3 separate regions of the Homo sapiens genome follow, and all the other regions are linked to region 3. The links are contacts of gene promoters, found by promoter capture Hi-C in blood cells and fetal thymus (Javierre and others, 2016). All regions are on one chromosome and are shown on one strand. Each heading gives the region's core, a stretch centred on a gene start or on the middle of the fragment in contact. The rest is flanking DNA. Distances are from core to core; before and after follow the strand shown.

Evidence for each region. Contacts are between HindIII fragments. The CHiCAGO score rates a contact against its expected background, and 5 or more counts as called.
Region 1: a contact is called between a fragment that was not itself captured here and the fragment with the promoter of SECTM1 in region 3, in 1 of 17 cell types (endothelial precursors). The highest score is 5.8, in endothelial precursors.
Region 2: a fragment that was not itself captured here is called in contact with the fragment with the promoter of SECTM1 in region 3 in 1 of 17 cell types (endothelial precursors); the score reaches 5.9 in endothelial precursors.

Annotation. Positions count from the first base shown.
Region 1 is chr17:82,767,454-82,772,114 of GRCh38, forward strand. It overlaps TBCD (tubulin folding cofactor D), which reads left to right. Exons shown (of 39, transcript NM_005993.5): 5 at 967-1,113. Among named protein-coding and RNA genes, the nearest start is that of TBCD, 18 kb to the left of the region's middle. The HindIII fragment of the contact is 512 bases long and covers 1,197-1,708 here.
Region 2 is chr17:82,594,811-82,599,024 of GRCh38, forward strand. All of the region lies in intron 8 of FOXK2 (forkhead box K2), which reads left to right. Among named protein-coding and RNA genes, the nearest start is that of FOXK2-AS1, 8.5 kb to the left of the region's middle. The HindIII fragment of the contact is 9,092 bases long and covers 1-4,214 here.
Region 3 is chr17:82,330,766-82,335,308 of GRCh38, forward strand. SECTM1 (secreted and transmembrane 1) reads right to left here and starts at 3,001. Exons shown (of 5, transcript NM_003004.3): 1 at 2,935-3,001. RefSeq lists a silencer at 1,344-1,628 and enhancers at 1,505-2,307, 4,355-4,424. The HindIII fragment of the contact is 7,811 bases long and covers 746-4,543 here.

The DNA of each region.
Region 1 (4,661 bases), core at 203-2,702, 440 kb after region 3:
TTAAAAAGACAGAGTTTCACTCTTCTTGCCCAGGTTGGAGAGCAATGGCACAATCTTGGCTCACTGCAACCTCTGTCTCCCAGGTTCAAGCGATTCTCCTGTGTCAGCCTCCTGAGTAGCTGGGATTACAGGCATGTGTCATCACGCCAGGGTAATTTTGTATTTTTAGTAGAAACAGGGTTTCTCCATGTTGGTCAGGCTGGTTTAGGACTCTTGACCTCGGCCAGGCACGGTGGCTCGTGCCTGTAATCCCAGCAGTTTGGGAGGCCAAGGTGGGCGGATCACGAGGTCAGGAGATCGAGACCATCCTGGCTAACACGGTGCAACCCTGTGTCTACAAAAAATACAAAAATTAGCCTAGCATGGTGGCAAACGCCTGTAGTCCCAGCTACTCAGAAGGCTGAGGCAGGAGAATGGCGTGAACCCGGAAGGTGGAGCTTGCAGTGAGCGAGGTTGCGCCACTGCACTCCAGCCTGGGCAACAGAGCGAGACTCCATCTCAAAAAAAAAAAAAGGAACTCCTGACCTCAGGTGATCCGCTCGTCTCGGCCTCCCAAAGTGTTGGGATTACAGGTGTGAACCACCACACCTGGCCTTTTTTCTTTATTCTTAGGTGTTTTTACTTTTTATCTGTTTTTCACTTTTTCAAAAGGCCAGTTTGTATGTGGAGAGGTGCCAGCGAAGAGAAGCTGCTATACTGATGTATTATGATTTTTCTTTGTTCATTTTGATGTCTCTCTTGTCTGCTGAGCTAAGTTACGGCGGTAGGTGTGTGTGGTGGGGATTCCGGGGGGGATGTGGCGAGGAGTTGGTGAACGGCTTGCATTTCTGGCCCTGAGGGTGATGGCATTTGAATGGCTTTCATAGGCATTGGGTGGGCATGGAGGGCAGTGACTTTGAGTAGATTGTGGCCAGTGGCCTGTGATTTTCAAGCAAGACTCATTCTTCCCGTGGTTTAATTTTTTAGGCTTGGGAAACCCGCTACATGCTTTTGCTCTGGCTCTCCGTGACCTGCCTGATCCCTTTTGATTTTTCTCGCCTTGACGGGAACCTCCTCACCCAGCCTGGGCAAGCACGAATGTCCATAATGGACCGTATTCTCCAAATAGCAGAGGTAAATATCATGCAGATAATTAGCTGCTAATTAGTACTCACTTTCATGTTCATGCTGTCTTGATGTTAGTGGTTTACTCGGTAAGCTTCTGATATGTATTCAACTGCTGTTTTTTTCAGTGGGGTAAAATCCCATAGGATAACTTATTTTGAAATTGTGATAATTCATGTAGGGGTCAGGTTGAGTTAGCAAATCTCATTTCTTTGTAGATGATGCAAATACTCTGTTGAGGGTAATCATGGCAGATAAGGAAGGGTTTAGTGGCATGGTGAGAGAGAATAAGGACCCATTTTACATTTAGTTCTTAACGTTATATAAATAATAGATGCTCATTTGTAGGAGAACTAGAAAATAAAGATAAGCAAGAAAAATACTAAATTTAAATTTATGAAATTCTAGTGCCAAGAGATAAGTTGTTTATTTTCTCCGAACTTTTCCTGATGTAAATATTATGCATATAAACACAGCTTATTGTATTAGTTATCTATTGGATCATAACTAATTACCCCAAACTTGAGTGTTTGACACACATTTATCCTCTTGTAGTTTCTGTGGGTCGGGAGTCTGGCATGGCTGAGCTGGGTCCTTTGTGTCAAGCTTGCCCACAGCTGCAGTTAAAACTCGACATGGGCAGGCTTTGCCCCAAGGCCGTTGGATTGAGGCCACCCTCAGTTCTTTGCCACCTGGGCCCCTCCAACTTAGTGACTTATTCCATCAAAGCCTGCAAGGGAGAAACTCTGCTAATGAGATGGAAGTCATGATAATATGTTACCTGATCATGGAAGTGACGTCCCATTCCTCTGCCAGATCCTGTGGTTAGCAGCAAGTCACCGAGTCCAGCCTACGCAAGCGAGCACTAGGAGGCTGTCAGGCTCTGAGCCATCTCAGTTGTCTCGGTCTTCCTGCCACGCTGACTGCGACAGCCCTGGTCAGCATTCACTGAGTGCCTGCTGTGTGCCTGGCACCGTTCAAACACTCATAGATTAATCTTTAATCACTTATGGATTAATAATTTAACCTATACATTGGGCTGGGCATGGTGGGTCACTCCTGTAATCCCAGCACTTTGGGAGGCCGGGGCGGGCAGATCACGTGAGGTTAGGACTTCGAGACCAGCCTGGCCAACATGGTGAAACCCTGTGTCTACTAAAAATACAAAAATTAGCTGGGCCTGGTGACACATACCTGTAATCCCAGCTACTCAAGAGGCTGAGGCAGAAGAATCCCTTGAACCTGGGAGGTGGAGATTGTAGTGAACTGAGATTACGCCACTGCACTCCAGCCTGGGTGACAGAGCGAGAGTCCATCTCAAAAAAAAAAAAAAAAAAATTTAACCTATACGTTGATGATTGATAGATCATCAGTGATTAATTAACTGTGATTAATAATCATTGAATTCTCCTTCATGAGGCTGTTGACAATTCTTACCCTCGTTTAACCGAGAAGGCAACAGGCATAAAAATTAATAACTTAGTTTACTTTGCTCATAAATGGTGGATCCATGTTTGAATCCAGGCGGTTTATCTGGAGTCTGTGCTCTTCATCAGGGCTCAGCATTGCCCCATGACCTGCTGTTCTGAGTCCTTTTTACCCTCAGCAACACGTTCTTAGTGTCTTACGATGTCAGAAAGTGTCCCCCTCATAATCGTTAAGGGAAAAGGTACTCCATTGTAATCTAATTTAAAATTCTCTCTGATAGATGGATGTTTTGTTTGTTCTTGTTTTGTTACGTTAGAGGTAGTGTGGTGATGGGCTGGGTGCGGTGGCTCACGCCTGTAATCCCAGCACTCTGGGAGGCCAAGGTGGGCATATCACCTGAGGTCAGGAATTCGAGACCAGCCTGACCAACATGGAGAAACCTTGTCTCTACTAAAAATACAACATTAGCTGGGCGTGGTGGCACGTGCCTGTAGTCCCAGCTACTCAGGAGGCTGAGGCAGAAGAATCGCTTGAACCTGGGAGGCGGAGGTTGTGGTGAGCCGATATCACGCCATTGCACTCCACCCTGGGCAACAAGAGTGAAACTCCGTCTCAAAAAAAAAAAAAAAAAGTAGTATGGTTTACCCACCCTTGTTTACTTGTCTGTGGAGAGGGACTGCCAGGTCAAGGGAGCATGGTTTGTCAAGACTTGGCACTCTGTGATTGCCGTTAGAAAGCCTGCCCCGGAGGCCGGGCACGGTGGCTCACACCTGTAATCCCAGCACTTTGGGAGGCCGAGGCAGGTGGATCACGAGGTCAGGAGTTTAAGACCAGCCTGGACAAGATGGTGAAACCCCATCTCTACTAAAAATACAAAAATTAGCCGGGAATGGTGGCTAGTGCCTGTGATCCTTTCATATTTATTCAACTGTTCTCTTACAAATGAACAGCTACTTGGGAGGCTGAGGCAGAGAATTGCTTGAACCCGGGAAGCAGAGGTTGCAGTGAGCCAAGATTGCACCACTGCACTCTAGCCTGGGCAGCAGAGCAAGACTCCGTCTCAAAAAAAAAAAAAAAAAAAAAAGCCTGCCCCAGAAAAAAAGATCTTCTAAGTGTATCGTTATGGGAAAAAACAAACAAACAAACAAAAAAAACCGAGACAAGCATTGGAAACATTTTAAGGCAGCCCTCCGAAAAATAAATCTAGCTGGGCGTGGAGGTTTCATGCCTGTAATTCCAGCACTTTGGGAGGCCAGGGTGGGAGGATAGCTTGAGCCCAGGAGTTTGAGAGCAGCCTAGACAATATAATGTGACTCAGTCTCTACCAAAAAATAAAAGAAAATTAGCCAGGTGTGGTGGTACACACCTTTGGTCCCAGCTATTCTGGAGGCTGAGGTGGGAGGGTCATCTGAGCTGGGGAGGTTGGTGCTGCAGTGAGTTTTTTTTTTTTTGAGATGGAGTCTTGCCCTGTCACCCATTCTGGAGTATAGTGGTCTAATCTCAACTCACTGCAGCCTCTGCCTTTGAGGCTCAAGCAATCCTCCCACCTCAGCCTCCTGAGTAGCTGGGATTACAGGCATGTGCCATCATGCCTGGCCAATTTTTGTGTCATTAGTAGAGACGGGGTTTTACCATATTGACCAGGCTGGTCTCAAACTCCTGACCTCAGGTGATCCGCCTGCCCCAGCCTCTCAAAGTGCTGGGATTACAGGCGTGAGCCGCAGTGCCCAGCCTACAGTGAGCTTTGCTCACACCACTGTACTCCAGCCTGGGTGACAGAGCGAGACCCGGTCTCAAAACAACAGCAAAAAAACCCTAAGACCAGCTACTGGGGAGGCTGAGGCAGGAGAATGGCGTGAACCTGGGAGGCGGAGCTTGCAGTGAGCCGAGATCGCGCCACGGCCCTCCAGCCTGGGCGACAGAGCAAGACTCCGTCTCAAAAAAAAAAAACAAAAACAAAAACAAAAAATATATACACCTACTATGTACCCCAAAAATTAAACACTAAAAATTAAAAATAACTAGGTATTTGTAGTAAATCTAGGTGCTCTTCAGTTTGAACAGGGCCTCTTATCTAGTCTGAATACTCCAATACTGATGGTTCCCTTGTGCTGGAAGGCATATTAGGT
Region 2 (4,214 bases), core at 41-2,540, 260 kb after region 3:
CAGGGTGGGCAGACTGCTTGTGCCCAGGAGTTCAAGACCAGCCTGGACAACATGGTGAATCTCTGTGTCTACAAAAAATCACAAAAGTGGCTGTGGCGGCAGCACCTGTAGTCCCAGCCACCAAGAGGCTAAGGCAGGGAGATCGTTTGAGCCAGGGAGGTTGAGGCTGCAGTGAACCGTGATCGCCCCACTGCACTCCATCCTGGGAGACAGGGTGAGACCCTCTCCACATAGTAAGTAAATGGAGGAATAGAAACGCAAGCCGGCATACATTGTCTTTGACAGCATTTTGTGGATAGGCAAGTTCTAACCATGGGGGCAACGTGGGATGCAGCAGGGTTTGGTGTGCCGTGGGGCAGGGGTAATTTGCTTGTTTCTCTAAGACTTTGTACAGCTCTGTAAACAGATTCCCATTAGGTCGTCCTTTCCTTGTGACAGGTAATAGTGGAGGTGTCACAAGGTAAGTGGCCTGTCTTGCCTGGTTTTCAGGTTCTACGGCTTTTGTCTTGTTTTTTGAGAAAGGGTCTGTCACTCAGACTGGAGTGCAGTGGCGTGATCACAGCTCAGTGCAGCCTTGAACTCGTGGGCTCAAGTGATTCTCCTGCCTCAGCCTCCTGAGTAGCCAGGACTACAGGCACGTACAAACATGTCCAGCTAATATTTTTTTTCTTTTGTAGAGATGGGGTCTTACCGTGCTGCTCAGGCTGGTCTCAAACTCCTAGGTTCAAGTGATTCTCTCGCCTCTGCCTCCCCAAATGCTGGGACTACAGGTGTGAGCCACCGCGCCCAGCCTTCTCCTTGTGTTTGAACTGGAGAGGACAGAGTGCTATACATGTGGTCACGGTTTTTCTTCGTTGAAAGCTCTAACAGTGGGGTCGGTCCCTGTTATTAAGCCTGTGTCACTATTCCCTGGGCCCTAAAAGTGCACCTGGCTCCTGTGACTTGGGGTCCTTTCCCACTCCTCTCCCCAGGGCCCCTTGGCCTCAGAAGGCCCCCATGTGCCAGCTCAGACTGGAGTTGCCTCAGTTGACACAGCAGGCCCCATCCAGACAGACCAGCAGGTGCTTCTGGAGACAAGAGCAAAGCCTTTTCCGGCAGCCCGGAACCTGGGATGAGAAACGACAGGTGGAAGGTTGTCCAGAGACACCTACAGCGTGGATGCTGTTCCGAGTCAGCGTAGGAGAAAGGCCACTGGAAACCAGAGTCACACTGCGCGTCTGTGCATCTCTGGCCTACCGCAGTGGCCCCGGCTGTCTGCACATTTTTTGTAGACACATTAGAGTCGGTTGAGGCCACACCTGCGGCCACAGACTGCGACCGCGATTGCAGGGAGGAGCATCTGAGGTGGTCACGGGGTTTGCCCAGCTCACACCAACTGCAGGTCAGTTCCTGCTTCGCCTTCAGTAGCCTGAGTCCCTTCTTCTTTTTCTTTCACGTTACTAGGGCAGTTGTTCGCTGACGCCTTAATTCTGGAACACGTTCCTTGCCCAGATTCTTGGTGGCTGCTTGTTCCCTTCTCATCGTTCCTGCTGTGTTTTCCATGCTTGGTGTAGGGGGACCCTCAGAGCTTGGTGTAGGGGGAGCCTCAGAGCTTGGTGTAGGGGGAGCCTCAGAGCTTGGTGTAGGGGGAGCCTCAGAGGTGGCGTCAGGACGTGCCTGCCCCACCGGTTGCCCTGGTGCCCTCGTCACGCCCCGGGACCGCGCACACGTGGGGACTGTTTCCAGACGCACTTTCTGCGGGCAGTCTGTGTGGCAGGGCTCCCTGCCCAGCTCCTGCAGCCTCATCAAGTCTCCCACTAAGGAGGTGTCGCTCCTCCAACTTTGTTCTTTTTAAAAATCGCTTCAGCCATTCTAGGTCCTTGGCATTTCCGCGTGAACTGTAGGATTCCTACACCAAGCCTGCTGGCGTCTTGATTGGGACGGTGTTGAATCCAGAGTGTGTGGCAGAGCTGGCGGAGCCCCTCTTTCTTTGATCTCTGCCGATCTCCTTGATTTCACGTTTGTTTTATTCCACAGACCACCCCCTCCCCATCTTCTCACCTACTTCAGGTTCCATTTCATGGTAGGAAATTCCTGTAGTCCTCCCGGGCTTGCTGAAGTGCTGCTCCAAGTTACAGTCCCCGGGTTGTCAGGCGTGGCGAGAGCCCCTTGTGCTCAGAGCTCTCACGGAACACAGAGCAAGCCTGTCTACGAGTTCAGCCGGTGAGGGGCAGGGGCTGGTGAAGGCGGCGGCGCCTCTGGGTGTGCCCAGGGGCAGGGTCGCCTCCAGGCCCCACGCGCTAAGCCGTGACTCCCTGTAACACACCCGTGTCGACACAGGTCACGTGGGCCCGAGGTGCTCATACATCACACTCCTTGTCCAGGATGGTCCTTCCTGGCACCATGTGGTCCTCGGTGCAAACCAGAGTTTGCAGTGCTCGCTGCACAGACCCTTCTGCCTTATTCAGCATCTTTAGATCAACAGAGTCAGTGCCTTCCCAAGAGAGCACGTGTGGGCCTCATCAGGAGCATGTGCCCAACTCGTGTGTGTGTTCCTTCTCTGCCCTGGAGGAGAGGGGTCGCCCTCTCTTGTGGCCCACCCCGGGGCTGCAGGGCTGATGGCTGCTCCCTCCCCAGCTCCGGCACCTCCAGGGCTCTGCTGCCTTTAGTCTTCCTTGCGTGCCCTCCACCTCCCTCCGAGCCTCTGCTGAGACCTCTGCTTCAGGGCCGGGCGTGTTAGCACAGCCCCTCTGCTGTTACAGGGCTCCATGTGGGGTCTCCACGTGGCGGAGTACCTCGCGACAGAGGCTCTGTGAGGGCAGGGCTGGGTGGATGAGAGTATTTAAGTGTCACCATTTCTTTTCTTTCTTTTTTTTTTGAGACAGAGTTTTGCTTTTGTTGCCCAGGCTGGAATGCAGTGGCATGACCTTGGCTTACTGCAACCTCTGCCTCCTGGGTTCAAGCAATTCTCCTGCCTCAGCCTCCTGAGTAACTGAGATTACAGGTGCCCGCCACCACACCTGGCTAATTTTGTATTTTTAGTAGAGACGGGGTTGCACCACGTTGGCCAGGCTGGTCTCAAACTCCTGACCTCAGGTGATCCGCCCACCTTGACCTCCCCAAGTGCTGGGATTACAGGCGTGAGCCACCGCGCCCGGCCTCCCAGTTTCTTTTCACTCCAGGCCTCTCACTACTGTTCTCTAATTGACACAGAATAATTGTGCAAGTGTATGGGGTGCACAGTGATGTTGAGAAGCATGTGACTCGTGATCGGCACATCCGTCATCTCATTGACCATTTCTAGGTGTTGGGAACCTTCTGGCTGTTTGAAACCGTATTGTTGACTCCCATCATCTCGCAGTGCTGCAGAACACTAAACTTATTCCTTCTGTCTAGCTGTCGTTTCTAGTTTTACGTCTTTTTAAAAATTATTCCTCCTGTCTGTCATTTCTAGTTTTATGTCCTTTTAAAAATTATTTATTTTTTATAGAGACGGGGTCTTGCTATGTTGTCCAGGCTGGTCTCAGCCTCCTGGCCTCAAGGGACCCGCCTGCCTCAGCCTCTCTTGGGGTTGCAGGCGTGGACCACTGTGCCTGGCCTACGCCTCTTGTATTCTCTGGGTCATCCAGTCAACTTGAGCCCTGGTGAGGGTGAGGCTGTTGGGTTGGGTGAGTCAGCCGTGTTGTGCTGCCGTAACAGAACACCCAAGATGGAAGACTTTAGCATGAACAGAAACGGATTGGCTTGCAGTTCTGGAGGCTGGCAAGGGCCTTCTTCCTGTGTGCTCACGTGGTGATGGGGTGAAGGCATATTCACCCTTTTAGAATGAACTCACTCCTGGAATCATGAGCCTGTCCCTTGGTGACAGCATTAAGCTGTTAGTGAGGGCAAAGCCTTCATGGTCAAGTCACCTTCTGAAGATGCCACCTCCTAATTAGGCTGCGTGGGCAAGTGAGTTTCAGCATTTCAGGAGACAGATGCCCACACCATAGCAGTGACCTCATCTCATTCAGGGTATTGGTGCTTGTCAGACACTGGCTGTGACTCGCATCTGGGTGCGTGTGCCTCTCTCTGTGGGGGCCACCCTGCCGTCAGGCGCCAGGAAACCGACGTCAGGGAATGTGGGGGTCTCCCTGAGAGGGTGCCGACCTAACACGGCTCCTCCGGGTCACGTGGGTGGGCTCAGCGGCCTCCCGTGCCTCCCCTAGGTCTGGAGTCTCCCCTGCCCTCTCGTT
Region 3 (4,543 bases), core at 1,751-4,250:
CCTGCCGATTGCTTCCTGAAGACCTGGGGCCCTGGGCTGCAGTGGTTGGGGAGAGGGGGGTGGGAGTGAGAAGCTGGCACTGTCCGTCTTTCTGGCCTCATCCTCTCCATGGTCTCAGCCCCTGGCGGCCTGGACTGCACCGTTCCGGAGATGCTGCCTCCCCACCAAGTCCCTTTAGCCCAACTGTGGTGGCGGCCGCTGCTTCTCACACGCGGGTCCTCTCACTGCCTCTCCCCGGTCCTCCCTTCCTCCCAGCACCTTCACCAGCTCCCCACTGAGTGCCCTCCAATGTTGGCGACCCTGACCCTTGTCCAGCCAGGGGTGAAGGGCGGCAAGGGATGGGCTGGAGGGTACTAGGAGCAGGTGGCGGTGCCCTTCCTGTCGGTCCACACCCGGCAAGTGGCGGGAAAGGTGTGGAATGAGTCAGCCGTGGAGGGGAGCCCTGGGCCTGGAAGACCCCTGTCTTTGGCTTGAGAATGACTTTGAAGGGCTCAGGGGGTAGGGAGCTGGGGGGAGACCGGGAGGAGAGCGGCAGGTCTGGCTCTACCCCGAGGCTTCAGGCTGCGGACCATGCGTGGCCCCAGCTCTGTCTGGGCAGCAGGTGTCAGCGACTTTGGGTTGCTGTGGGAATTTGCTCCGTTTATCAGAAGAAAACGCACCCTGGCAACACAGGCCCCTCTCAGGTCACCAGGCACATCTGGTCACATCTGAGTCTCAGATAAACAACCAATGATGTCCTGGTGAAAGCTTGTCCCGTGGGACACTCGGGACACACTTATATTAAAACACGATTAACGATCTCAAACTCAGATGTTACTGGGTATCCTGCGTTTTTGTTGGCAGCTCTGCCACTCTGCCCGTCTGCCTGAGTCCTCTCCTGCCATCCTCCTGACCAGAGGCGTGGGCTTGAGTTGAATGCCACGCAGTGGCTAAAAATCAGAGAGAGGGCAGGCGGCAGGGCGCGGCCCCAGGGAAAGTGGCCAGGTGGGCGGTGACTGGCCGGGCAGCTCCGTGTGTGGCACAGGGAGACCTGGCACAGGGAGACCAGGTACAGGGAGACGAGGCGCACGGAGCCTCAAAACTTCTAGAGTGGGCCGGGCGCGGTGGCGCATGCCTGCAATCCCAGCACTTTGGGAGGCTGAGGCAGGTGGATCACCTGAGGTCGGGAGTTTGAGACCAGTCTGAACAACGTGGTGAAACCCCGTCTCTACTAAAAATACAAAAAAATTAGCCGGGCGTGGTGGTGCACGCCTGTAATCCCAGTTACTTGGGAGGCTGAGGCAGGAGAATCGCTTGAACCAGGGAGGTGGAGGTTGTGGTGAGCCAAGATCTGGCCACTACATTCCAGCCTGGGCAACAAGAGCGAAACTCCGTCTCAAACCAAACAAAACAAAAAACAAACTTCTAGAGCGGGAAAAGATGGAGGCGGCAATCAGATTTCTCTCAAACCACGAACACAGGGGTCGGTATCTGAGGCGCCGGCACCAGACACGGCAGGGTCTGAGTGCTCCCTGACAAGCGATGATGCGCAGGCTTGGAGCCATGCCAGTGACACGCCTAGGAAAGTTCACGCACCGCCCAGCACGCCTGCGCATGCCTGTTCCCGCTCCCTGGTGCCCCGGGCGCCTGCCTGTCCCGGCTCCCATGGGTGCTGGGTGTGTGGAAGCTCCGGCCCCCTCGGGCTGGGTTCATTGGGGTCCTCCTGTGTGGTCAGTGGACTCTGTACCCCCACAGCACCTGAGGGGTGGCTGACACTGCTTTCCCAGCTGCTGCAGGGGCTCAGGGAACACAGGTGACCCCACGTCTCTACCGAGAATGAGCACACCAACACCTCTCAGAAGACAGCTGCAGCCTGCAGAGGCCATGGACCCCACCCAGGCCCACGGTGTGGACGGCTCTGCCCTGGTCTCTGCTGAGCCAGGCCCAGAGGGGACCCCAGGTGAGCAGCAAAGCCCCCCAGGCCTGGGGCTAGACCGGGCTAACCCTTCCTGCTCAGCACCTGTTCACCTGTCCCCTCTGCTGGTGGCCTCCTGTCCTCCCGCTCTGGGCTCAGCAGCAGCCCCGTGGAGAGGCCCTGCCACCACCCCCGCCCTGCTGGAGACAGGCCTCCTACGCGGGCTCCTGCAGCCGGTCGCCCTGGGCCTCCTAGAAGCCGGGGATCCTCTGCTGACCACCGGCAGAAAACGTGCTTCTCAAGCTGCAGGTGATTCACCAGTAGTGGGCAAGGAACTGAATGTGGTGATTACTGCGGAGTCAGCAAAACCCGCGTGAGAACGGGCAGCTGAGGGCCTGCCGGGTGAGGGAAGCCTCACGGTTCCTGTTTCATGAGTTTGCTGTGAGTGCACACGAGGCTGTGGCTGTGGAGTGTGCAACAGTCCACGCGTGCCTGCGTGTGCTCATGTGCGTGTGTCCACCAGCTTGTGTGCACGCATATGAGCGAGTGCGTTTTGCTCCCAGCTTGGTCGCAGCGACGGCGCAGGGAACCCCGGGTGAGGCCGAGGACCGGGAAGGGAGGAGGGGGCTCCGACCCATCGGACTTAGGGGAGCCCCGGGTCCGAGACGCCGCCTCTGTCCCTTCAAGAGTCGAGCCTGGCGCACAGGGCAGGGACGCGGGTCCCCACACCGGCCGGCAGCTCGTTCCCGCCCATACTCGGGTACGCCCGCTGCGACCCCGCCCGCCTGGCCTGCGACGCACGCTCAGGGCCAGCGGGGGGTGACGGTCCCAGAGGCAGAGGCGCCGCAGCCCCAGAGTCCCCATCCCTGCGCGGACCGGCAACCCCAGTGCACCAAGAGGCCCTAACACCGAGCCCCCAGCACCGAGTCCCCAGCACCGGGCCCTCAGCACCGAGTCCCCAGCACCGAGTCCCCAGCACCGAGTCCCCAGCACCGAGCCCGCCCCTCTGGTTCCCCCGCCCGCCCCTCTCCGCGCCTCACCGGGTCCGCTCCTGGACGCGCTCCTCTGGGATGCAGCTTCTCCGCGCCCCGGAGCCCCAGGAAAATGAAAGACACGAGAGGGAGGGGCCAGGGAGGAGGCGGCGGACCCGCGCGGGACCCACCTCCCAGATGAGGAAGGAGCTGGGTTTACGGGAAGCCTCCAAGTTTCGGGAACCACCCGCGTTCACAACAAGCGTGACGGTGAATTTATTATTTTCACGGGAGGCACCGCACCCGCGGTTCACGCTAAAGGAAGCAGGAAAGCCGCCGGGAGCATTTTTCCAGGAGAGTTCGTGCCTGGGCGGGTCCAGCTCGCGTGCGGCGCGCGTTCCCCGCGGGGCTGTTTGGCTCCGCTCCTGGAGGCCTCGAGTCTGTGCACGGGGCGAGCTGGGCGGGCCGAGTGGGCCGCGGGGAGGGAGGGCGGGGGGCGGCCCCCAGATGCCTGGGAGTGCGCGGGCAGAGTGAGCTGGACCCCCGGAGGGTCAGAGGCCCTTTCATAAAAGCGCGCAGAGCAGAGGAGTGATGTCCCCCAGCTCCCCCGCAGAGGGTCCTGCACCTGCGGCCTGGGCCTTCAGGCGTCCTGCGGCCCCTGCGGAGGTGCTGGCCTGGCCAGCCCGGGAGGAGGGGCCCAGCCTGTTGGGGCAGGAGATTGGGGTGCGGGTAGAAGGCTCCAAGACGCATCCGGGCCGGGAACCCACAGACATCCCAGGTGGGCAGGAGGTGGCTCGAGGAGGCCTGGAGGACCCGGCGCCTGGCGGGGTGGCAGGCGGGCCACGTCCTCCACTAGAACCCGAGGGGGCACGCGGGCAGGTGCGGGCGGGGTCAAGGATGACCAGGTATCTTCGGGACACTAGGAGGAGGCCCCACAGGCTGCAGTCACGTGAGTGGGCAAGTCCCCACCGGGCAGATGATGGGGGACACTGGGGCGTGGGCAATGCCCCCAGTTTCATGGAAGAGAGGAAGAAGCAGAACCAAACTCCGGGAAACCCTCAAATGTGGGGAATGGACGGAGCAGGGCCAGACTGGACGCTGAACCTTGGAGCCTGCAGCTCAGCCATCAGACCCAGGGTCCAGAGGTGGGTGGCACAGAACAAAGTCCCCCGGGATGTTCCAAAAGAGAAACTGTCGCCAAATTGGCAGGTGAAACACAGCCTGTCATCCTCCCAGCAAGACGGCACCATGGCCGGGGCACAGAGGTCAGATTCCCCAGCCCCCGCCCTCGGGGAAACCCCAGCCACCCTGGCTGCCAGTGAGATGCTGGAGAGGGGGCTGAAATCCCACCTGCCCACGTCCTCTGCACAGAGGGGCTTGTCCCCGAGGCCACATCCCCCAGCAGCCACAGCTTCCTTCTCCTTTTTTCCTGCCTACTAGATCTCTCAACTCAGAGGGGGCTGCAGTTCCTGGGGGCAGGGGGGTCCGGCTGCTTAGGCAGGAGCACCTGCACCGTGAGGCTCTGGAGGGCAGCTGAAGGCTGGCAGGCTTTTGTCCCGTGAGGGGACACCACTGGGGGTTGGAGGAAAACGCATATCCTGATAAAGCATTTCATGTTGTGAAAGTGAAACTAGTTTGTTTATTTTGGAAGTAATACAGGCACAGAAACAAAATAGAA